2 separate regions of the Homo sapiens genome follow, and region 1 is linked to region 2. Evidence: promoter capture Hi-C in 16 types of primary human blood cells and fetal thymus (Javierre and others, 2016). All regions are on one chromosome and are shown on one strand. The core of a region is centred on a gene start or on the middle of the fragment in contact, and the rest is flanking DNA. Distances in the headings are between cores, read along the strand shown.

Region 1 (7,539 bases), core at 4,089-6,588, 160 kb before region 2:
CCATGGACAGAGAACAGATCAATTGTACCATGTTCCCTACTGGAGGACCACATATTGGTAAAAATAAATTACTTGAAGCAAATCAACAAAGATGAATTATACACATTTAATGTTGAGTAAAGAAAGCAAGTCACAAAAGAACATCTTATTAATTCTACCTAAATAATGATTAGAAAACACAAAAACTGCTCTCTCCCTCTCCCTCTCCCTCTCCCCGCAGTCTCCCTCTCATGCTGAGCCGAAGCTGGACTGTACTGCTGCCATCTCGGCTTACTGCAACCTCCCTGCCTGATTCTCCTGACTCAGCCTGCCGAGTGCCTGCGATTGCAGGCTCGCGCCGCCACGCCTGACTGGTTTTGGTGGAGACGGGGTTTCGCTGTGTTGGCCAGGCCGGTCTCCAGCCCCTAACCGCAAGTGATCCGCCAGCCTCGGCCTCCCGAGGTGCCGGGATTGCAGACGGAATCTCGTTCACTCAGTGCTCAATGGTGCCCAGGCTGGAGTGCAGTGGCGTGATCTCGGCTCGCTACAACCTCCACCTCCCAGCCGCCTGCCTTGGCCTCCCGAAGTGCCGAGATTGCAGCCTCTGCCCGGCTGCCATCCCGTCTGGGAAGTGAGGAGCGTCTCTGCCTGGCCGCCCATCGTCTGGGATGTGAGGAGCCCCTCTGCCTGGCTGCCCAGTCTGGAAAGTGAGGAGCGTCTCCGCCCGGACGCCATCCCATCTAGGAAGTGAGGAGCACCTCTTCCCAGCCGCCATCACATCTAGGAAGTGAGGAGCGTCTCTGCCCGGCCGCCCATCGTCTGAGATGTGGGAGCGCCTCTGCCCCGCCGACCCGTCTGGGATGTGAGGAGCACCTCTGCCCGGCCGCGACCCCGTCTGGGTGGTGAGGAGCATCTCTGCCCGGCCGCCCCATCTGAGAAGTGAGGAGCCCCTCCGCCCGGCAGCCGCCCCGTCTGAGAAGTGAGGAGCCTCTCCGCCCGGCAGCCACCCCGTCTGGGAAGTGAGGAGCGTCTCCCGGCAGCCACCCCGTCCGGGAGGGAGGTGGGGGGGTCAGTCCCCCGCCAGGCCAGCCGCCCCATCCGGGAGGGAGGTGGGGGGTCAGCCCCCCGCCCGGCCAGCCGCCCCGTCCGGGAGGTGAGGGGCGCCTCTGCCCGGCCGCTCCTACTGGGAAGTGAGGAGCCCCTCTGCCCGGCCAGCCGCCCCATCCGGGAGGGAGGTGGGGGGGTCAGCCCCCCGCCAGGCCAGCCGCCCAGTCCGGGAGGGAGGTGGGGGGGTCAGCCCCCCGCCCGGCCAGCCGCCCCACCCGGGAGGTGAGGGGCGCCTCTGCCCAGCCGCCCCTACTGGGAAGTGAGGAGCCCCTCTGCCCGGCCACCACCCCGTCTGGGAGGTGTGCCCAACAGCTCATTGAGAACGGGCCAGGATGACAATGGCGGCTTTGTGGAATAGAAAGGCGGGAAAGGTGGGGAAAAGATTGAGAAATCGGATGGTTGCCGTGTCTGTGTAGAAAGAAGTAGACATGGGAGACTTTTCATTTTGTTCTGTACTAAGAAAACTTCTGCCTTGGGATCCTGTTGATCTGTGACCTTACCCCCAACGCTGTGCTCTCTGAAACATGTGCTCTGTCCACTCAGGGTTCAATGGATTAAGGGCGGTGCAAGGTGTGCTTTGTTAAACAGATGCTTGAAGGCAGCATGCTCGTTAAGAGTCATCACCACTCCCTAATCTCAAGTACCCAGGGACACAAACACTGCGGAAGGCCGCGGGGTCCTCTGCCTAGGAAAACCAGAGACCTTTGTTCACTTGTTTATCTGCTGACCTTCCCTCCACTATTGTCCTATGACCCTGCCAAATCCCCCTCTGTGAGAAACACCCAAGAATTATCAATAAAAAATAAATAAATTAAAAAAAAAAAGAAAACACAAAAACTAAGCAATATGTCCGTGTGAAATGTAAGCATATGTGGAAAGTCAAAATACAATGAAAAGGAAGAGAGTGATAAACACCAAATTCAGCATAATTGTGAGCTCTGATAAAGAGGGTGGCTTGGGGAAGGATAACCTGAGAGCTTTCAAAGGTATCAGTGACACTCTTGTATCTCTAATCATGGCTGTGGGCACATGGTTTCTTGTCTCACTGTTATAAGTACTTTTTCATACATATTATTTAATTTTTTGAGAAATATAATTGAGAAAGCAAAACAACATCTTATTTTCATTAAATTTTTTATCACATAATGATATTTTTATAGTCAACACCTGCAGAAAAATGTTACCGTTACATATCAGTAACACTTCATCTCCAATGATAGCATATTTATTGGTACATAAGAGAAAAAACTCTTTTCAATAACTATGAGGTCATAATTGCATTTTTTTCTTCAGCTATATTCCCACGTCACAAAAGCAAAGGGAGTGATCCAGTAATCTGCACATGGGAGTACATCAGACATTTTTATATCTTAAAACGAATAATAATAAATGTTTTGCCATTTAAAGCTGTGTCACTTGAACAAATTAATCTTTGCGGGCTTAAAATTTTTAGACTAGAATGCAATAATAGTAATACCTACCTAATGGGTTTACTGTGAACCTTAAATGAAACATGGAAAGTGAGTTTATCAGTGCCTGGAACTTAAAAATCACTTAGTAAATGCTAGTTTTTGAAATTTATAATTGAGATTTTCTTGCTCTAAACATCACTTATTTTACCATTTACCAGCTTTCCAACTTGGGAATGGCTTCCTCCATTTCCTGAAATTTAGTTTCCACAATTATAAAACAGAATCAATATTATATGTGTGGTAAGGCTTATATGTGGACAATTCTTGACATAAAAGGAATTATTTAACTAATATTACCTTCCTAGCTGTTCCAAATGTATAGTCCCTTAGAAGAGAAAGAAGACCCTATCAACTATAAAGTTCTTAAGTATTTCAATTTACATTTTCCTTACTATGAATTATTTATAAGTGCAACAATGGGATTTTCTGACCTGTAACCAAGTTCTATTTGCAATTAGATCTTTAGCCTCACCTCTGACGAGCCCTATGTCTCCCTTACCAATTCTTTGACACCAGAACCCTCCAACAGCAGATAATTCTGGGTGCCAGGGCCTTGCTGAGAAGTTGAGAACGTGGCATAATGTTACTTCCTAATATTGGAGAGCCTGGGGACAATCACCTGGGTGAAAGAAAAAGCCAAACAGAACCATTCCTTCTCAGCACTGCCAGGGACACAGCAATCACAAAAACTGACCCTGCCTTCAAGGGACAAGGAGACAATGGCTGATTAAGGCAAGGACACAAATAATTATGATGTAGCACACAGTTTTCATATAGAAGGCAATGATTAAAAAAATTGGAGTGCTGGGACGTGCAGAGAATAAAAAGGAAATTCACATCAGGAAAATACTAACTAAATAAAAGTTGGCATACTTTTATGTAGACTTTAAGATTGTCTTTTGGAAGCAAGGTCACTAGATAATGAAAATAGGCTTAATTCAAAGAGAAATATTTTAAATATGTTATCAACCTAATAAAATATTCTCAAACCTTGGGGGAAGAGTGATGGTGATACATCAAATAAGATGCTATTGACAAGTCCAAATTGTAGTGAGAATTTCAACACACTCAAGCACTAAAATGTTGATCATTCAAATGAGCAAAGACAAGGTAAATGTTTATGCATTCATACAAATTCAAATTCAAGTTTATTTGGGAAGAATCATACATAGAGCCACCTAAGTTATCTCATTGGCCACAAAGTAGCAAACAACCTGAGACTGACTGGGGAAATACAGGGCTCAAACAGAGAAAAGGATGCAAAAGACCAGGTTGTGCTGCCACAACTCAAGCCCCTTTGCTGCCATACATTTGCCAAGTCCTGACCCTGTTCCCATGCCAACTAAAATGAAGGCACATGCCTCTAACCACCCCACCATCCAGGACTCAAACCTCAGGTTTCACAATCATCCACAACTCAGACCCTAGGTAATTGTCCTCCCATCACCAATCACTCAAGCATTTCAGCAGATATGCATAGACCCTCAATTAGAATGTTAAATGGATGATGGATCTTCTGTTCCCACTCTCCTTCACTCTACAGCATCTCTGAGAGGTGACTGCATGACTTTACTTGAGTATTCTTGAAGAAGTAAATTCTCTATTGAAATGGTAGCCAGTTCCCCTAATGAACGGCTCCAACAATTTTTTTTTTTAGAGTGGCATCTTTTTAAATATCACACCACAATCAGCCTCCCCAGAACTACTTCTACCCAGTGGATCTAACCCTATGGTTCCAAACTATCTTAAATTTAAAAAGAGAGGCAGAAAGAGAAAGAGAGAAGAGATGAAAGAGAGAGACAGGAATGAACCTCGAATTAGGCAACAGAGCTGCCTGCCATATTTCATCCCTTTAGATTAAATAAACAAATAATTACCTAACTATAGCTCTGTGTCTCTAATAAAATGAAGCAATGAACAGGGAAATAAAAATGTAATTAAAAATCCCACATATGAACATAAAAGTTGAATATTGTAGGGGGAGAGAGAGGACATTATCTTTGGGCAAAACTTTGATTCACATCCCAAATATTTAGACTCTCCTGACACTACCAACTTCTTCCATTTCCCTACTTGATCTAGTACTGTGCTTGATGACCCTGCAGCTCCAGACTAGACTAAAAAGAGAGGGGACACAAGGGAACTTGACAGACAGAAGAAAAAGGTGGGTTCAGAGGTAAAAGTGCTATTTCAATTTATATTTCCAAATATGGAGGCTAATTCTTGCTTTGAGTGGCTGGGTACATGTACTATGGCACTAAAGTATAATTTTAGGCCATTTCTGCTAAATCTGACACAAGATATATACATGGTTCATAAGAAACTTAAGTGTGAGCCAATGAGGACAATATTTGGGGACCCCTAAGTATAGTGCTGCCAAGTGTACAGCCTCAGTGATTCTTGAATCTCTGCATGGATGCCTCCTGCCCACCTACTCAGCCCTAAAAGTGAAGCCAGAAGGTAAAAGTCAGTGCTAACGGCCCATCTTTGACCAACTTCTAGAATCTTTCTTGTCCTCAGGGACCTACCATCCACACCTGCTTATAGGGTGGGGGCTGCAGAAGTTCTTCTAATTAAGGTAGCATGAGCATGCCAGGCAGTCCCCTGGGGTCTTTTTCAAGAAGTGAAACCTGGTAAGGCAGAAACTTTTTTTGCACCTCCTTCAGCTATGGTAAGTGTTAAACCAAAGTAATTGGAGCGAAGCCCAAGGTAGCAGAAGCTACTGATTTCCTGTCACCTGATGTCTATCAGCGATTTCATCTTCAGGCCTGGACTACACCACTCACCCTCCCAGTGTGCTTGAGAAACAAACTGCACCCACTGAACTCCGCAGCTAGCATCCAAATCAGCCCTTGAGATTTGAGGCCTTGGAGACTCAGGTAAGGAATCAATTTGCTTTCTTTAAATGACTTAAAGGAGGTGATGGATAAGGTATAGAATGGTTTTGAAGACTGGAGGTTCTTGATCTTAATTCTAGAGTTTCCCTAGTCAGACTTCCTAATAGTTCTATGACTTAAGGAGGGGTGACGATATCAAGGCTTGCTGCCCACTCACTCCTCTAATCAGTCTCCCTCTCAACAATTACCCTATGCAGTCAACTGTGAATCATTCCACAAAAGTAGTAGATTGCAGCATATATATTAAATCATGGTTTCTAAACCATTGGGTTCAAACTGGAGCTCTACCACTAACAAACAATATAACCTTGGGCAAATTACTAAACCTCTAAAGCCTCAGCTTCCTCATCTATAAAATGGGGGCAATGGTACCCATTACATTAGGAAAATTGGAACTAAAATCCTGAATCCCTTAGGACTTCCCAATACCAAATGAGAAAATAATCAGTCATAGGCATAATGAAAAAAACTCCATTTGTCTTCCTGTAAATGCTTTTGTCTACATTAAATGTAAATATACCTAGAAGTATAGGTGGCTTTACAGGCTAACATTTTCTGGAGGGGATTTGTGGACACCAAGTTGAGCATGAAATCCTGCCTCAAATCTATCACATGGGAAACCAAGAGTAAGAGGGGGCGCTGCAGATGTGGGGGAGCTCTAATGAAGGAAAACAAGGATTAATTTTAATCATGCCATTACTGTTTTCTGAATCCAGTATATAAGTGATTCCCTTTCCCTGTTTCCCATAAAATGGCTTAATCTCACTGAGAATCCGGTGGAAAGAAATGTTTAATCCAGCATTGTGAGCATTTTTGTGTGTGTGTTTTGTTTGTTTGTTCATTTTTTAGTGGAGACAAGGTTTCTCCATGTTGGCCAGGCTGGTCTCGAGCTCCCGACCTCAGGGGATCCACCTGCCTCGGCTTCCCAAAGTGCTGGGATTACAGGTGTGAGCCACTGCACCTGGCCATTGTGAGCACTTGTTAAGCTTCCCTGAGGAAGTAGCTGAGTTTGATGTTCAGCTTAATGTAACTGAGCTCATAGTACATAGAAAACAGGTTCCCTATGCAAGTCTAGTAGGATACAGGATTCTCCGAAGAAAGTAGTTGATGTCTAGTAAGGAAAGCAAAGAGCTAGGAGCTCTGAAGAATTCCTTGCAATCAGGCAAGGAGAGCAGGAACGCCCTCAGGTGATGTGCATATCTAATGCAGAGTTTGATTGAAAGTAAAGAGGGAGGGAGAAGGAACACTTCAAAGTTGAGAAGATTCAGGAAAGAAGGTAGAGGACATGTATAGACCAGTGGCTCTGGTGGCGGTAGTGGGATATGAGCTTGGGAAGTCATACAGGGCTGAATTCCAAAGGCCTTGAGGGGTTAGATGAAGGGTTTCTCCAGCAGGTAATGACAGGCCAGCAAAGGAGTTCAGGCTCAGGAAGAGCATCACTCAAAACAGTGATCGGGAGCTTGATGTAGCAGCCTTGTGGACAATGGATTAGAAAAGAGAAAGACTGAAGGCAGAAAAGCATGAATGGAAATGAGAAACTCACAGGTGACTCTGGATATAGAAAAAAGACCCACATGCAAAATGTATTGCAGAGGTAGAAATGGCATGACTTGGCCACTGACTGACCAACAGCCAAGATGAAGATGGACTGAGAGATGATGGAGCTAAAGTGAAATGTGGTCCCAACTATCTAAGCCTGGGTGGCAGGAGAAACAAATAAAACAATCTGAGACACGAGGCCTGAGAAAAGACCACTGACTTCACAGCACAGTCCTCAAAGACCAGTTTCAGTCCACTGACTGGCGGAAACTAGTTGCCAAGCATTGAGAAGTGAGTGGGTGGAGAGGAGGTGGGGGAAGAGAGTGGGTAGCAAAGCTTTGAAGCAGCTGCGGTGAAGAAAAAGTGAGCCTGGGCAGTGGGCAAGGACATTGCTAGATTAAAAGAAGAGGACTTTGGGATTCAGGGACACTGAAGTACATTTTAGTCATAAAAGGAGTATTTAGCACCTTAACAAATGCAACTTATCTCATATTCTCAAAATGATACTTTGAAATGGGGAAGGTAACTATTACCTTAAACTTACA
Region 2 (6,678 bases), core at 1,109-3,608:
TATAGATTTCTACTCCAACTAAATAGAATTTAAACTGACAGCTATTCAATGCTATACTTAATAATGTAATCAAGTTTGAGTAGAAAACAATATGCCCTTTATGATCAATCATTGTCTTGGGGACTGTCTTTTCATATAGCATTGTCTTTGGCTTTCAATCTATAGAAACAAAAAAGAAGGGAGGATGGAAACCAGGGAGAAAGGGAGAGAGGACAAAGAAAAAAACTAAAAAGTATCAAAAGCACATGGTTTAATTTAAAAATCTCGCCTGGTGGGGTGGTTCACACCCATAATTCCAGCACTTTGAGAGGCTAAAGCAGGGGAATTGCTTGAGCTCAGGATTTTGAGACCAGCCTGGGGAACACAATGAGACCCCATCTCTACAAAAATATAAAATAAAATAAAATAAAATAAAATAAAATAAAATAAAATAAAATAAAATAAAATAGTAAAGTAAAGTAAAATAAAATAAAATAAAATGCATAAAGTTGAAAAAATTACCCAGGAGTGGTGGCACATCCCTGCAGTCCTTAGCTACTTAGGAGGGGAAGGTGGAAGGAGGGCTTGTGCCCAGGAATTCAGAGTTACAGTGAGCAATGATAGTGCCACTGCATTCCAGGCTGGGTGACAGAGACCTCATCTCTAAAAAAATAAATAAAATAAAAATCTCAATGAGGAGAATACTTCTATTAGAATTATTTCCAAAATTCTAACCCAAATTCTATAGTTCTTTATTTTAGAGTGTGCTAATGATCAATTTACTGATATCTAACTTACCTCAGGTTCATGGCAGAAGGAGATCCTTTCTCTGCATATTAAAGAAACCATCAGTGAGCTCAGTCAAGGAGGAAAGTTTAGTGGCAAATGAAGAACTTCATTCTGTTCAAGAGGCTTCTTGGAAAATGTAATTTCATTAAATCCATCTCAGTATTCTCTTCCCCCTATTTCATTAATAAAAATTAAAATTGATGAATATGGTTATTTTTGTCTACATGAGGAACTGTGCATGAATTTATCTCAGTTTGAATATGGTCAGCCTGAGTTAAGGGATTCTTCCATACAAGAGAAGTTCTATGAATGGGCACATGTTACTAGAGTAGAATCTATACCTAAAATTGATAATGATGTAATAAATGCTAACTCGAGAAAATTATTTCATTGTGAGAAGGAGACTTCGCATAAATGATAAATAATCCCATTGCTTGTGAAGGCTTCTTTGCTTATTAGCTCTAAATACTACTAATTATTTCTTTCTCACTGGATATTATTAAAACATGCATAGCTTACCTACAGTGAAGAAGGTATATTACAATTAGCCATATCTTTATGTTATTGAGACTACATGAATTAATAGCTACTGGATTTAGTTTGTCTAGAAAGTCCAGCTCCCAAAACGTTACATATTTTTGCCTATAATTTTACACTGTGGCTTATCACACTCAAATTTTAAGCAAATTATCTTAGAAATGTTTTGTTGTGTCTATAAGGATGCTTCCTATTTTTTAAATTTTCTTTGATCTCCATACCCCACTCCCCCTTCCCTCCCTCCATGAGCAATTGTTCCACTTTATAAAACATGCATATTTTATTTGTCAGTATCTCCCCAAAAATGTATGGCATTCTATTGTAGGAATGTATCTGGAATCCATGAAGTTCATACACACCCATAAATTACATGCACAAACTTTGCTCCTCCTAACAGTAAGTTTTAAAGATCTATCCGTGTGGCTATCAGTACCTCTATCAGTTGATTTTAAATGCTGCCTAAAGTCTGTGCCATGCACCCCGCACATTTATACATTCGCTGTCCCAGAAATGGGCAACTGGGTTCCCCCCATCTTGCCCCTTAAGTAATTTGGGGGGATACAAATTCAAGATTAGAGTATCTGTGTTATTTACATATATGCCATTTGTTTATGAAGTGCAAAAATTTCCACCATTTAGAACAGTCTTCTGTTGCAGGTCCTTTATTATTGTGTGTTTTTCTTCAGTCTAGTCTGTATACTTTTGTTCTCTTAGGAATTCACAGATTCTGGTTCACCAAGAGAGTTGCTTCTTATTTTTCAATGTGGCAATGGAATTTTTTTTGTAAGTGTGCTCCTTGGAATTGGAGTTCATATGAAGAATAAGTAGCATCTGCTTGGTCTACCTTCATGAACTAAAAACCACAACTGTGAGAGAGACTTGCATAAATGTATGGGTTGAGAAGAAATACAAAGCAGGGAGTAATATTTGAATATACTGGGGAGAAAGAGATAATTGATGGATTAAGGTTTATAAGCCCTTTGAAGGACATGAGATTAGTAGCACAGGGACAGATTACACTTTAGAATAGAGGAAAGACACCTAATTCTGATCAAGTAAGAAAATAGTGAAAAATTAGCTTTAATGTAAATGTTCTTTATCCATTCCTCCATATGAGAAGGATAAGAAAGAACATGAGAGACTTTGTCTTTCCTTTGAAAAAATTGACAAGGCAGTCATTTAGGAGTGAGGGGTGGTAATGAATAAAGTACTTGTTTGGATTAAGAGTTGCCAGGAATCAGAGGCAAAATTGGCCAAATTATACTCAACGATTTAATTAGAAGCACAGATGAAGATACTGGACTTTCAGATGACATCTTTGTTGGGTGTCTATCCATGCCATTGTGAGAGTTTCCCTAAAATATCCTACACAGAAAAGGTGGCATTACAAGGTGGCAAACTTGCATTTGTGGGTTTTAATAAGATGATAATTAGTGGATCTGTGGGATCCAGGCTGAATGAGGAAGGATATGATGCCAGAAATTTTGAAAGAAATGTAGAGATTGGGGGCCAATAATCTGAAAAGGGGCTGCTAACACCTAAGATGCCTTTGTGCAAACTAGACAAAAGTACCCCGTTCAAAAGGACAGATTGCTTAATAACAGCTCCTCTGGGAAAATGAAATAGAAGGTAAGTCCCCTCTGAACAGTACAATTAGAAATTGAGGCCCCTTCCTCCTAGCTAATCAACCCAGCACCAAGGGAGTCTGCCCTGCAAGTGGAGACCAGGTGCAACTGCAGCCCCAATCTTTGACCCCATTTACATGCATCCTTGAACAAGGTCCCAGCTTCAGAGCCTGAGCTAGTTTAACACAAAGAACAGCTCTAGATAGGGAGTCATGACATGGCAGATCTGAAAGATATTTGTTTTTGATCACAGAGCAGGATATCACAATTGAGATACCGGAGAGAATGAGCCGCAAATGTAAATATAGGGTAGCTCCTCCATTTATTCATACATTCATCATAAACTACTTTTTGACAATCTACTTTGCACCAGGCATAATTCTTGCTTCTGGCAACAGATTTAAACAGAAGAGACAAGATCCTGCCTTCAGGGAGCTTATATTCTAGGGAGAGGAAGTCAGTGACACTATATGGACCATGCACTGGTCAACAAAGCAAATACATAAAAATTTAAAAGGCCAATCTCTCCTTCCCCCATAAAAAAAAAAAGAAAAAGAATCATAGTCACCCTTGGAGGGTGTTCATTATTTCAAAATTTCATAAGTAAAGAGATAAAGCACACATCTTGCCTTTCATTTTTGTAACAGTTTCATTGAGATATAATTCACATATTATAAAATTTACCTATTTATTTGTGGGTTTTTTTGTTTCTTTGTTTGTTTTTGAGATGGGGTCTCGCTCTGTTGCCCAGGCTGGAGTGCAGTGGCGCAATCTCAGCTCAGTGAAAGCTATGCCTCCTGGGTTCACACCATTCTCCTGCCTCAGCCTCCCAAGTAGCTGGGACTACAGGCACCCGCCACCATGCCTGACTAATTTTTTGTATTTTTAGTAGAGCCAGGATGGTCTTGATCTCCTGACCTCGTGATCTGCCCGCCTCCGCCTCCCAAAGTGCTGGGATTACAGGCGTGAGCGACTGTGCCCAGCCTGAAATTTACCTATTTAAAGTATATAGTTTAGTGGCTTTTAGTATATTCACAGAGTTGTGTAAGTAACACCACCTAATTTTGGACCCAAACCCATTAGGAGTAATTCTTATTCTCCACCCACTTACCTCAGTATTAGCAAATCACTGGTCTACTTTCTGTCTCTGTGGATTTGCCTACCAGGGCTATTTTATATGAACGTCTTTTGTGACTTGCTTCTTTCACTTACCGTAATGATTCCAAGGCTTATTCATGCTGTAGCATAAACTATAACTTTGTTGTGTTTCATTATCAAATAATACATTATATGGATATACCAAATATTGTTTGTTCATTCATGAGTTGATAGGGATTTGGGTTGTTTTCATTTTTGGCTATTAGGAATATATAAGAATGCTCCTATGAACATTTGTGTGCAAGTTTTTTTTGTAATGAGGACTTTCCTGACTCCCCTCATTTACATTTCCATTGACGCCACCTCCCTTTCATACTTTATTATTCTCCTTAGCTCTCATTATTCTTAACATGCTATAAATTTTCCTTATGAATCTTATTATTGTTTTCCTTATTATTAGAATTTCATCTGTTTTGTTCACTACAGTATCCCCAGCATTGAGAACAATGCCTAGCACATACTGGCACTCAGTGGAAATTTGCTAAATTCATTAATCATAAAAACGGCAAACATAAAAGAGTTCAACAAACATGACTGTCATCTATTACTCATTAGCCAGCTGATGCTAACACTTTAATAAATTAGACAAAACCTTGCAATCATTCATTTATTCCTACTATGTGTTGAGGATAGTTGTTAAACACTGAATATACAACTCAAACTGTCAGGTTCAGCATGACGGACATATATGCACCCGGTTATTGCAGTGGAATATGTTTGTAATCGCAGTGGAATGTGTTTGTAAAACATCTTTGGTTTTCAAAGTTCTGCAGTATAAGCGTATGAGGTACCTGAGCGGGTATCATCTCCACTCTACAAAATAATAAACTAAGGACCAAAGGAGTTAAGTGCAGTGCTGTACCCACCACATCTTGCAGAGGATTCTAAGTGGCAACGAGCTTCTGACAACGATGCTGCTTCTAAGCGGGGGTGTGTCTGGGGTTAGCAGTGGGGCCACCACGTGATCAGTCCGCCGACAGATCAAGCACAGCCTCTTCCTCCTGGGTGTGCCAGGCCCAGGGACAGAGGATGATGCCCACACAGCCAGCAAAGGGCAGCATTGTTGTCAGCCGCCACCCCACCCTCGTCTTGGGAGCCTGCAGGCTCCGCGGAGCCATGGGAGCCCCACCGCGCCTCAGGTGTCCGCGCGGGTCTCTCGGACAGCCCCGCTCTTGGACGTTAGAACCCCGCGAGGCAGGGTGAGGGGCGCCACCGAGGAAGCGCCCACCGGGCTCCCGGGGCTGCCAGGCCCCAAATTGAGGAAGTTGACTGCCAGATCACACTCTGTTGGCCCACGCGTGAGTGTAGGGATCCCTGGTTGGATTTGCACTGGCGCTGGGAATAAAACTAGCACCTGCTGAGGGTCAGGTGTTCCCCACGACCCCATAGTCACAGTGTTTTCCAAACCACTTCCAGTTGGAAAGAGCCTTAATTAATACTCTGTGGCACTTTTCACGTATTTCTTTCAATACCTTTTCTTCCAATGTGTGTTTTCAATAAGTGACCTGTTTGACACACCCAGCATCCTCTCATGTAAAAATAAATTGGCTAATTCACAGGAGGAGAATATGGAGATAGTGTAGTGAATTGGGGATCCCAGGGTCATGGTTGTGGCAATAATGACTCTTACTTTCCATCTTTTACCATCTTTCTATATTCTTTTTAGCTTAGGAGATGCGCCTTGGGTTTTGCGCTAGAGATCATATAAACAGAAACTCATATTTTGGATGATAGGAATGGTTGATTTCCAAGAACAGTAACTTAAGAGTTTCCCTGATTGTGTGTATTCCCTTTCCTGGCTGACCTACAAAGCTTTAGTAGGGAGAATCCTTAACCAGGATTATATAAGTAGATTCTGCTGCTGCTCCTCTGGAGCAGGCCACAGAGTCCTCGTGTGAAAAGTGGCTCTTCTGAGAATCGCCTCTTGAAATTCATATTGTCTGCGTGTATAAATTCAATTTGATCCTTAACATTGAAACCGAGGTTTGCTTTCTCAAGACTTTTTAGTACCTGCCGCATGTCTCAGTCAAGTCTGTTCTATCTCCTTGGGTTCATCTGCTATGGAGAAAGACAGTATGTGTCTTTGGGGTAACCTTCCAAGGCTGCCCAAAACTAATTCAATAAATGCCAGAGAACCTATGCTCTAAGGCTGAACTTCCCAAACATGTTTCATGACTGGCATAAACAAATCTACCCATTTATACGTAATGTGGTAATGTATCATGCATTTCCTGGTAACACATCAGCCAGGAAAGGGAATACACAATCAGGGAAACTCTTGGAAAATCACTGTTCTTGGAAATCAACCATTCCTATCATCCAAAATATGAGTTTCTGTTTATATAATCTCTAATGCAAAACTCAAGGCACAAGATACCCAAAATGGATAGAAAGGATTCTGCAAGCAATTATTGTTTTCCAACAATGTGCAAACTCATTGCTAGAGCCAGATACTGTGACATTGTGAGATTTTGCAGCAGCAATGATGTATATGGGAAGGCACTTAAAAATCGTAAGGTACTTAAATATCACATGGTAGTGGAAATGTCAGCGGTCAGGAATGGATGGAGTGCTGTGTGGGGAAAAGAAG

The links. The method cuts DNA at HindIII sites, captures the fragments that hold promoters and counts their contacts. A CHiCAGO score of 5 or more calls a contact.
Region 1: the fragment with the promoter of MS4A1 here is called in contact with a fragment that was not itself captured in region 2 in 3 of 17 cell types (total B cells, naive B cells and M2 macrophages); the score reaches 8.1 in total B cells.

The regions. Positions count from the first base shown.
Region 1 is chr11:60,450,509-60,458,047 of GRCh38, forward strand. MS4A1 (membrane spanning 4-domains A1) reads left to right here and starts at 5,339. Exons shown (of 8, transcript NM_152866.3): 1 at 5,339-5,437. RefSeq lists an enhancer at 7,418-7,527. The HindIII fragment of the contact is 9,401 bases long and covers 1-6,439 here.
Region 2 is chr11:60,610,467-60,617,144 of GRCh38, forward strand. It overlaps LOC105369321 (a long non-coding RNA gene), which reads right to left. Exons shown (of 6, transcript XR_001748240.2): 5 at 778-941. LINC00301 (long intergenic non-protein coding RNA 301) reads left to right here and starts at 5,285. Exons shown (of 7, transcript NR_026946.1): 1 at 5,285-5,386. The HindIII fragment of the contact is 7,080 bases long and covers 1-5,898 here.